Regions from separate parts of the Homo sapiens genome. Here regions 1 and 3 are each linked to region 2. Evidence: promoter capture Hi-C in human tissues and cell types (Jung and others, 2019). All regions are on one chromosome and are shown on one strand. Each heading gives the region's core, a stretch centred on a gene start or on the middle of the fragment in contact. The rest is flanking DNA. Distances are from core to core; before and after follow the strand shown. Region 1 overlaps ANXA7 (annexin A7). Region 2 holds the start of MSS51 (MSS51 mitochondrial translational activator). Region 3 overlaps PPP3CB (protein phosphatase 3 catalytic subunit beta).

Region 1 (3,101 bases), core at 76-2,575, 52 kb before region 2:
AGCAGAAGCCAAATCTTCAAAAGAAAAGCTCATACCCTAGAATAAGCCTCCATGGTAGCTCTCAGCTGAGGAAAGCTTCTTGTGGCAAGGATCATGTTAAAGCAAGATTCATCGGTCCCTAGTCTCCCCTCACCAGCTTGATAGAGACGCTGAGCATCTTCCTGAGCCATTTGGTGGTTTATACTCTGGTTCTCATCACGATTTCCCTGCAAAAGAGAAAGGCAGGAATTGGAAGAAATAAATAATAGTTCTACTAAATTTTTTTTTTCCAATCTAGTTCACTTTTGGATTTAAAGAGACTATTTCTTTTTTTTTTGAGATAGGGTCTTGCTCTGTCACTCAGGCTGGAGTGCAGTATCAACCTCCTAGGCTCAAGTGATCCTTCCACCTCAGCCTCCCAGATAGCTGGGACTACAGGCACAAACGACCATGCCTGGTTAATTTTTTTATTTTTTGTAGAGACAGCATGTCTCACTATGTTGCCCAGGTGCTGGTCTCTAACTCCTGGGCTTAAGTGATCCTCCTGCCTTAGCCTCCTAAAGTGCTGGGATTATAGATGTAAGCCACTGGGCCTGGCCTAAAGAGATAATTTATTAAAGATTAATCCATAATGTCTGTCATGCATATGCTTCATTTCTATGCATGGAAATATAACTAGTAATTTATTATACTGTCAACTGGATTTTATAATATAAGATCACGGTTTAATGAGGTTATGTTAAAAATGAGGGCTTTTGGGAGCTAAATTAAACCCAAAATGTTTAAACAAAAATATCTCTACTAGGAGATATTAACTACCACTCAAATGAAGAAACAGCTCTCTTAGCTGGAATTTAAGATCAATATGCACTGTACTGAGTTCTACTTTTTATTCATTCATGCGACTAAGAGACATTAAGCACTTTCTTTGTGTCAGGCACTGTGTTAAGCGGTAGGGACACAGGAGAGACAGGGTCTCTGCCCTCAAGAAATTTAACTCTAGGGCAGGAGGGAGGGAGGATATAATATGGAGGCTTCATAAACTTTCTTTTCTTCATCTGAGTATAATATTTTTTTTTAAGAGACACGATTTCACTATGTTGCCCAGGCTGGGGTGCAATGGCTATTTGCAGACATGATCATAGCCTCAAACTCCTGGGTTCAAGTGATCCTCCTACCTCAGCCTCCAGAGTAGCTGGGACTATAAGCTCACACCACCACACTCAGCCATCGAATTATAATCTTAATATGTAAGTATTTACCATAAATACACGCATAAAAATGACACATAAGCTTTACAGAAGCAGCTACAAATAACTCATGTTCTGTTAGACTGTGCCTATTTGTATACCACACTCTTCCCTGGAATAGGAAGAAAGGAAGGAGGAAGGAAGAGTTTAAGCTTAATGAGCAGTTGGTTTCTCTCAAAAACAGAAAGACAAACCCAAACAAGAAAAGGCTGCCTTTTAGAGTCTCAGGGACCATCTTTGGAATAAGATGGAAAAATCCTCCTTGAAGCTGAAGAACTGTCTTCTGAGCAACTGGCACAAGGAATACGTAGAGGCACATTCTACATGGGCGACTGAATATAACACAGGAAAAGGTACTCACAAAAAATTTCCCAGATTATTGCCTTTGGATTCACACACACTTTCTCAGGAAGTTACTCCTCTACTCATGCCCTGGAAAAGGTAGGGCTGGGCCTTGAACTCTGCATAAAGAGAGACTCAGCACCTCATGTAAAATCTTAATAGCCATTTTTTAGCATTGTCTGTTTTCCTTCTTGTTTCTTTTAAATCCTAACCTACTGCCCTCCTGTTACTCTGATTTAGGTAAATTCAATTTCCTTCAACCCATTTACTTTGCTTTCTCATTTCCATATCCACTATCCTTTCCACAGCTACCTCCCTTTTTTTTTTTTTAGATGGAGTTTTGCTCTTGTTACCCAGGCTGGAGTGCAATGGCACAATCTCAGCTCACTGCAACCTCTGCCTCCCGGGTTCAAGCGATTCTGCTGCCTCAGCCTCCCAGGTAGCTGGGATTACAGGTGCCACCACTCCTGGCTAATTTTTTGTATTTAGTAGAGATGGAGTTTCACCATGTTGGTCAGGCTGGTCTCAAACTCCTGACCTCAGGTGATCCACCCGCCTCAGCCTCCCAAAGTACTGGGATTACAGACATGAACCACCACACCCAGCCCCTCCCTTGGCTCTTAAGAGCCCCTCCTCTCCTTTAGATCCCTCCAGATGGTCCAATCTTGTGCACTAGCACAATAGGCAATAACTCTTGATATTGAATCAGCATGCTAGTCATTTACATAATCTCTTTCAAATACACCTTCATCATCTAAGTGTGCTTCTTTTCTTTTTTTCTTTTCTTTTTTTTAAGGACAGGATCTCACTCTATTGCCCAGGCTGGAATGCAGTGGTGCGATCACAGTTCACTGCAGCCTCAATCTCCTGGGCTCAAGTGATCCTCCCACTGAACTTCCTGAATAGCTGGCACTACAGGCACATACCACCATGTTCGGCTAATTTTTAAAAATATTTTTTATAGAGATGGTTTCTTGCTATGGTACCCAAGCTGGCTTCAAACTCCTGGCCTCAAGCAATCCTCCTGCCTTGGCCTCCAAAAGTGCTGGAATTACAGGTGTGAGGCACAATGTCTGGCCCTAAGTGTGTTTCTAATGCCATTCCAAATACCCTATTTGGAGTATTTTCTGTCAATTCTCCAGCACACCTGGGGAATCAAAATAAAGAAGGTGCTAATCACAGTTATTACTGGGAACCCTAAAACATTTTTCTGCATTTCTGGGTCTCCTCACATAGTCCTCACTTCCTGTAGCACCTCTATGGCAGTCCTGCACATCTTCACTTGATGGTGGGGCATAATGGGCAGGATAGTGATAAGCTCAAATGTACAGTTTCATCCCCATCCCAGCCACAGAGCCTCGAATTGGTTTCTGATTCCATACAACCTTAGAGGTTAAATCTCTAATTCCTTACAAAAGCCAGATTTACAGGAATAAATCTCAATAGTAACTACAAAGAAATCTGTACACTGGTTTCTGTGTTGTCCCTCTTAAAGATGGCAATATTGCAAGGTGGCTAAATATTAAAAGG
Region 2 (3,239 bases), core at 463-2,962:
GTCATGTCCTTTTACCAAAAGAGTAAATGGAATTGCCCTTCACACTTTAGGGCCCAATTTCCAACAACTAACCTCATTCTGTCCTCCACTTTTAATCACCTCACATTCTCATTGCATTTTCAGAATCACTGCCATTCTACAAAAAGCATTTATCTACTCTACCCACCTGCCTCAGGCAAGATAACATTTTCTTTTTCTTTCTTTCTTTGAGACAGAGTCTCACTCTGTCACCCAGGCTGGAGTGCAGTGGTGCGATCTTGGCTCACTGCAACCTCCACCTCCCGGGTTCAAGTGATTCTCCTGCCTCAGCCTCCTGAGTAGCTGGGATTACAGGCTCGCGCCACCATGCCCAGCTAATTTTTGTATTTTTAGTAGAGATGGGGTTTCACCATGTTGGTCAGGCTGGTCTCGAACTCCTGACCTCGTGATCCACCCACCTCGACCTCCCAAAGTGCTGGGATTACAGGCATGAGCCACGGCGCCCGGCCAAGACACCACTTTCTTAAACCTTGAAAGAATGACTTTTTTTTTTTTAAATAGGTATGGAAGGAAAGTGTGATTTGAGACAACTCTAGGGTCTTAAATCCCAGAATTTATAATAGATATCTCCCTGAAGTTAAAACATAAGCCTTTTTGCTGCAATGGAAGCAAGCCACTTAAGGTCAGAAAGGTACTGCTTTACTTTTCCGCATTTCCAAGGTGAGGTCTTCCTCTAAAGGAAGATTAGCTCTTGGCAATCTGGGAGTTGGCTGAACTGGTCAGAAAGCAAAAGGATCACACAGTTTGAGGAAGAGGAGTGGTGGTAAAAATCCCTAATGTCACAGTCTCCTCTGTGTCTAGAGCACAATGTTCATGATACAAATGAGTTAGCTTTCTGGCAGAAAAGAAAGAAGGTGGGTGAGAAGCCAGGTCTTTGATCTGCATCTATATACATCATCAGGTTCATGTTTGAGTTTATATACCCCAGGCCCAGACACAGCTTCCCTGGTTCTAAATCTCCTGTAAAGAGCCCCAGGCTACTCCCTGTTCACAGGTTATAAACTGAGAGAAACAAAGGAAAAAACAGGGGACTCACAGGAGAAGCTGGAAAGAATTGCAGTAAGCTCTTTGAACTTTCCAGAGTCTAGAATGCTCTCCACTTAGAAAGGGAATCCCTTTCATTTTTTTCTAGCCATCCCCAGTGACTTAGGCTCTAATTTAGTCCCAGTATAAGAGAGAGAACACCAACACCAAGAACTGGAGAGGAGACATGATCTTGATTGCCTAGAAAAACTTTTATCCTTCATGTCCAAATTCAAGACAAAATATTAATCTATTCCTAGACCTAGGTTTCCCATCTTCTTCTTTACCACCAAGAGTCCCAAGTTTCACCTAAACTACAGTCATATTTTCACTATCTCCAGATAAGGAGTGCTCATCTAATTTTCTGTAAGTCACCAAAAAATGCAAAACGTCTTTGGAGAGGTAGGGAGAAGGAAGACTGAAACTGGTCATTGGAGATCCTTATAAGGGGGTAGGAAAAGAGAAGGAGAAATACATTAAGGACACTGTAATTATGGCCACATTCAGCTGTTTAATCAGTGATTAACACTGCCTGGGGTGATAAATACTTTACTCAATTATAAACTAAGCAAGCAGACAGGTTGACGGAAAAAAAAACTTACCCTGCTAAGTCCTCAGCTTCCTTCCTTCTCTCTTTCCTCCAAGTGAAATGAGTGCTTGATCTCTTCAGATCTAGGTTGTGGCTTACTTGCAGCTGTCCCTTCATATCACTTTCCTTTGCAAACTGCTGAAATGCTGAGTCTCAGTGATTAAGTGTGCCCTGCCAACCAGACAGACAAGGCTGAATTCTCCCTAATGAGGCAAAGAGGGATCTGTCCCCCTGCCTGAGGGCTTCTCTCTAACCTTTGTTCTCTGCCAAGGGGGCTCAGGACTGTCAACACTCCCAAGTGTTAGCCAAGTAAAGGCCAGGCAGGCTGACAAAAAATGAAACCTGCTGCTTCCTAGACTTCTCTCACTCAAGGCAATATTTCTGTTCTCAGTTTACAGCTTCAGAAGAAAACCCTTTGGATTAGTGCAGAAGTCAATATTTGATTGGAAAGGGTAAGCACCTTTCCAACCAAGTGGGAGGAACCAGAGGACCCTCTGGAGTTCTGTTTGTTGATCTAGACACAGGATGAGTTCCCCCAGGCCTGGTGTCCTTTTTCAGCATAACAAACATTGTTCAAACAAAACTCAACAATGTCCAATCTTGGATTAAGTAGAAGGGAGAAAATAAATGGCCATTTAATGGTACAGAATGAAATCAGTTGTAGGGGAAACATGCAGAATTAACTTGTAAAATTCACTTTCCCTGAAAGAAGGGTAAGATAACTCTCTGAGTGAGAGAGTCATCAGGAGCACTTTACCTGTATTAAGAGAGGAATAAATGCTTCTGGGATATTAAACAAAACCAAAATACTAGTTAATGACTAAAAATACATACTATTTCTAGGAAAAGAAAATAGAAAAGAATCAGCTCAACCATTCTCTTATCCTCCTTGTAATTGCAGCTGATCCAGGAAATTCAATTCCACAGTCCTAGCTTCTTTCTACTTACAGCTAGCCTATCTGAAGTTGTTAGGGCAGTGGTCCTAAAAGACTGCAAGATCTTTCTTACCCTCAAAAAATTTTTTTAAAATTTTTAAATAAAAAAGTTCTGACTTTCTGCTTATATCTGACCCCAGCTCTCACTTACCTGCTTCTTTGAACATCATCAAACTGGGGAACAGAATCACTCGCAATGAGGTCCCGGAATGTGGCAAATCAAATCCACACAGGAACCCCAAACTGTAAAAAGTACAAACTACATGCAGGGAAGGTGGAAGAAAAGTGTTAAGGATTCAACCAAACACTGCATAACATTATGTAGAATAGCTGTGGATAAAGGAAAATCAGTTGCAATAGGCAAAAACCCTAAATAAAATAGGGGTAATTCACTTTGTGCAAAAGTTTCAGGCCAACTTCAAATTTAACAGGCTTCAAAATTTATCTGAGAACCTCAAATGTTTTGAGTTCTGTTAATAATGGCTGAACTGCAGAAGATACAAGACATCAGAGATTGACTTTTCTAATTCAGAAGTTGTCAATGAATATAAAGGAGAATAGTAATATAGAAAAACTTTGATGTTGAATACTTATATTTTACTATCACTATGACTTGCTCTGGTAAACATTTAAAGTTACGAAGTCTGAACTTT
Region 3 (3,438 bases), core at 652-3,151, 45 kb after region 2:
ACATGTAACTATTCATATCCTTCATTTTATTCAAAAGGGAAAAAAGTAATAAAATCAGGGAAATAATCTGTTCTCGATGCTTATTTTGATTCTTTGTTATTTTCCTTTTATAACAACAAAATGTATTAAAGGAGTCAGCTACATCCAGGCGCAGTGGCTCACGCCTGTAATCCCAGCACTTCGGGAGGCCGAGGCAGGCAGATCACCTGAGGCCAGGAGTTCGAGATCAGCTTGACCAACATGGCGAAACTCCATCTCTATTAAAAATACAAAAACTAGCCGGGAGTGGTGGTGGGCACCTGTAATCCCAACTACTTGGGAGGCTGAGGCAGGAGAATCTCTTGAACCTGGGAGGCAGAGGTTGCAGTGAGCCGAGATCACGCCACTACACTCCAGCCTGGGCGACAGAGTGAGAGTCCATCTCAATTAAAAAAAAAAAAAAAAAGAGTCAGCTGCAAAACAATCTTACACAAGGACATGCACACCAACTTAGTTACCAAATAAGCTTCATAAAACTGTTTATTTTATTGTTTTGGTCAAATGCCTGAAATTTTTTTGTTAAAATGGGCCATTTTCTGATTTGCCTGAAGCCCTGTGACAATTTGGGAAAAGTTGACGAGGCTAATAATCAACTATCAGCAGGAGGAAGAAGAACTCAAAATAGCAAAATTCCTAAGGGAAGCAGGACAGACAGAGTCTAGAACTTCCTTCCACTCTGAGAATCCTAGCACACCTCAGAAAAAAAGGTATATTGGAAACACTGGAGAAGGAGATATAAACAACAGTAACCAACATAAATTCACCAGGTAAGGTTTCAGTATCTACTAGGGAAGGTGGTTAAAAGCATATGCTGGGAGTCACATTGCCTGGCTATGCTGTTTACTAATAATACCTTGGGCAAGTTACTTAACCTCTCTAAGCCTCAGGTTCCTCATCTATAAAATGAATAAAACAACAGTACTTACCTCATTAATATTATTGTGAGGATTAATCGATATGTCTTCAGTGCCTAGAACATGCTTAGAACATATTAAATGTGCAACACAGGTATCTATTGGTAGAAATTTGACCCCACAATTCTACCTCTAGGAATTTGTCCTACAAAAATAATCAGGCAAGTATGTAAAGATGTATGAATAATATGACTCATTAAAGCATCATTTGTAAAGAAAAAAACTGGGAACATCTTCAGTGTCTAACACAAGGAATTAATTAATTATGGTTTGTTTATTAGATGGAAAACAATGTAGATATTAAAATGATGCTACGAGTTTATATTTACTGACTTGGAAGGATATTTGGTGTAGGCATGTATGAAAAAGCAAGTTACAGACAATATTATAATATGATCCCCTTTTCATTAAAAAAAGAAAAAATGTATATATTGGAAAATACATATTGTTCTACATTTGCTGCATTTTGTTTATATAATTTAAAAAGATGGCAGGGCAATGTGGCTCACATCTGTAATCTCAACACTTTGGGAGTCCAAGGCAGGAGGATCACTTGAGCCCAGGAGTTCAAGACCAGCCTGGGCAACATAGGAAACTCCATTGCTACAAAAAAATTAAAAATTAGTCTAGGCATGGTGGTGTGTACCTGTGGTCCCAGCTATTTGAGAGACTGGGACAGAAGGATCCCTTAAGCTCAAGAGGTCAAGGCTACATTGAGCCATGCTGGTGCCACTGTACTCCAGCATGGGCCACAGAGTAAGACCCTGTCTCAAAAAAAAAGAAAAAGAAAAGAGAAAAAGGAAGAAAAGGAACCATCTACTGTTAAGTGATAATCAAAAGGTCATTTTAATGCCTCAAGTTTTTAAAAACAAATTAATACTTTCCAAATACACAAAGATTCCATAGGATATACTTGAGTCTTAATAGCTACACAAGGAGAAACAGAAGCACTAGGGCTCAAGCAATAAAAAAATCACAATATACTTTATTTAATCAGACAGAATTCAAGTAATCTTTTTTCACATGGTTTAATGCCTTTAGGGGCAAGAGAGATAAATAGCACTAAATTTTTAAGGCCACTAGTTAACAGGGCAATAAAGACCCCTCAGTCAGCTCATAAATTCCACTGGGAAAAAAATGGCAATTATAATTATATAAACAGAGTTATACAAAGAAATTTATTTGAATTGTTTGAAAGACAGAACAGGAATAAATAGTAGCTTTTCATAAAAACTTCAGAATATGCAGAGTTATTAAAAAAACCTAACACAGGTACTTGTGAAAACTAGGATTAAGTGAAAGCATCTGTGTTAACACTTAACAGCAAATCAAATGACAGTTTATGATTATTACCTCTATACTAAAATAACCTCTGTCCACATAATCGCCAAGAAAAAGGTATCGTGTATTAGCAGGTGATCCTCCTACTTCAAAAAGTTTCATCAGATCAAAAAATTGGCCATGGATGTCACCACACACTGAAACAAGAAGATTATTAGATAAGGGAAAAAAATCTCTAAAACAACAAATTTTACTTAAGTTAAAACGTATTTTACATAAGACATAGTACAAATGCTATCAAGAAATGTCTGAGAAGGAAGTAGTCTATGAACAGTCATGATTAGGATGATGTGTAACCAAGTGTTCATGTGCTCAAGATCTAGAAAAAGATGTAACAGAAATAACGAAATTTGTGGTCAGTGACAAACTGAAATCTACATTTATAAAGATCGTCTCTAGGACTCCAAGGATGTGTTTTAAGTTTCAAGATGACAAAATTACAATGGTGGCAGTTAAAATATCCATTCTAACTCAATACTTTCTGTTGCTCTCTAAATGGTCACTTTTGGTATCTGATATGACATCAAGGTATTTGACCCTAACAATTGAAAGCAAAGTAAGTATTGATCAAATTGAAGTATGGTCAACACAATTGATGAAACCTTCACAAAAGCATATTAGACTAACTTCTACACTCAGATTATTTAGAATCATGTCTATTCACTGAAAACAGGCAATCATTTTTAAGTATGGAAAATAATTTGAAATTCAAGATAATGTCCAAGTAATATTGATTTAGCATACAGTATCATTGAAAACAGTAAGTTGTAAATCCAGGCAACTAAATAATGACATAATAAAAATAATACCCAAAACATGAATAAGCTTACCTGTGATTGGAGCTTCTACTTCTATCATGGTTTTCTCTCTCCGAAGGATGGCAGCACCCTCATTGATAATTCTAAGCGCAATTTCTTCATCTACTCGACCTTCTTTCACCAAGTGGTTCTTCAGAACATCAACCCTGGGTATCCCATCCAAATCAAATACTTCTTCAGATGTCAAGCGATGTGTTGGGGGGAAAGGGACAGCTGCAAATGTTTTTAATTAATAAAAGATAAGTCACCAAAAATACATTAACTTAAAAACTAATAATTGGATCTAGATAAGACTAAAAACTGTAAAGCAGGGATTTTTCTTTCTT

Evidence for each region. The method cuts DNA at HindIII sites, captures the fragments that hold promoters and counts their contacts. A contact is called where the count stands out against the background at its distance.
Region 1: a contact is called between a fragment that was not itself captured here and the fragment with the promoter of MSS51 in region 2, in 3 of the 25 tissues and cell types used here (adrenal gland, bladder and mesenchymal stem cells).
Region 3: a fragment that was not itself captured here is called in contact with the fragment with the promoter of MSS51 in region 2 in 3 of the 25 tissues and cell types used here (hippocampus, lymphoblastoid cells and mesenchymal stem cells).

The regions. Positions count from the first base shown.
Region 1 is chr10:73,379,996-73,383,096 of GRCh38, forward strand. It overlaps ANXA7 (annexin A7), which reads right to left. Exons shown (of 13, transcript NM_001156.5): 10 at 36-206. Among named protein-coding and RNA genes, the nearest start is that of CFAP70, 23 kb to the left of the region's middle. The HindIII fragment of the contact is 3,836 bases long and covers 1-3,101 here.
Region 2 is chr10:73,431,849-73,435,087 of GRCh38, forward strand. It overlaps MSS51 (MSS51 mitochondrial translational activator), which reads right to left and starts at 1,713. Exons shown (of 7, transcript NM_001024593.2): 1 at 1,665-1,713. The HindIII fragment of the contact is 24,221 bases long and covers 1-3,239 here.
Region 3 is chr10:73,476,193-73,479,630 of GRCh38, forward strand. It overlaps PPP3CB (protein phosphatase 3 catalytic subunit beta), which reads right to left. Exons shown (of 14, transcript NM_021132.4): 2 at 3,125-3,325; 3 at 2,307-2,431. Among named protein-coding and RNA genes, the nearest start is that of PPP3CB-AS1, 18 kb to the right of the region's middle. RefSeq lists a silencer at 2,465-2,665. The HindIII fragment of the contact is 4,697 bases long and covers 1-3,438 here.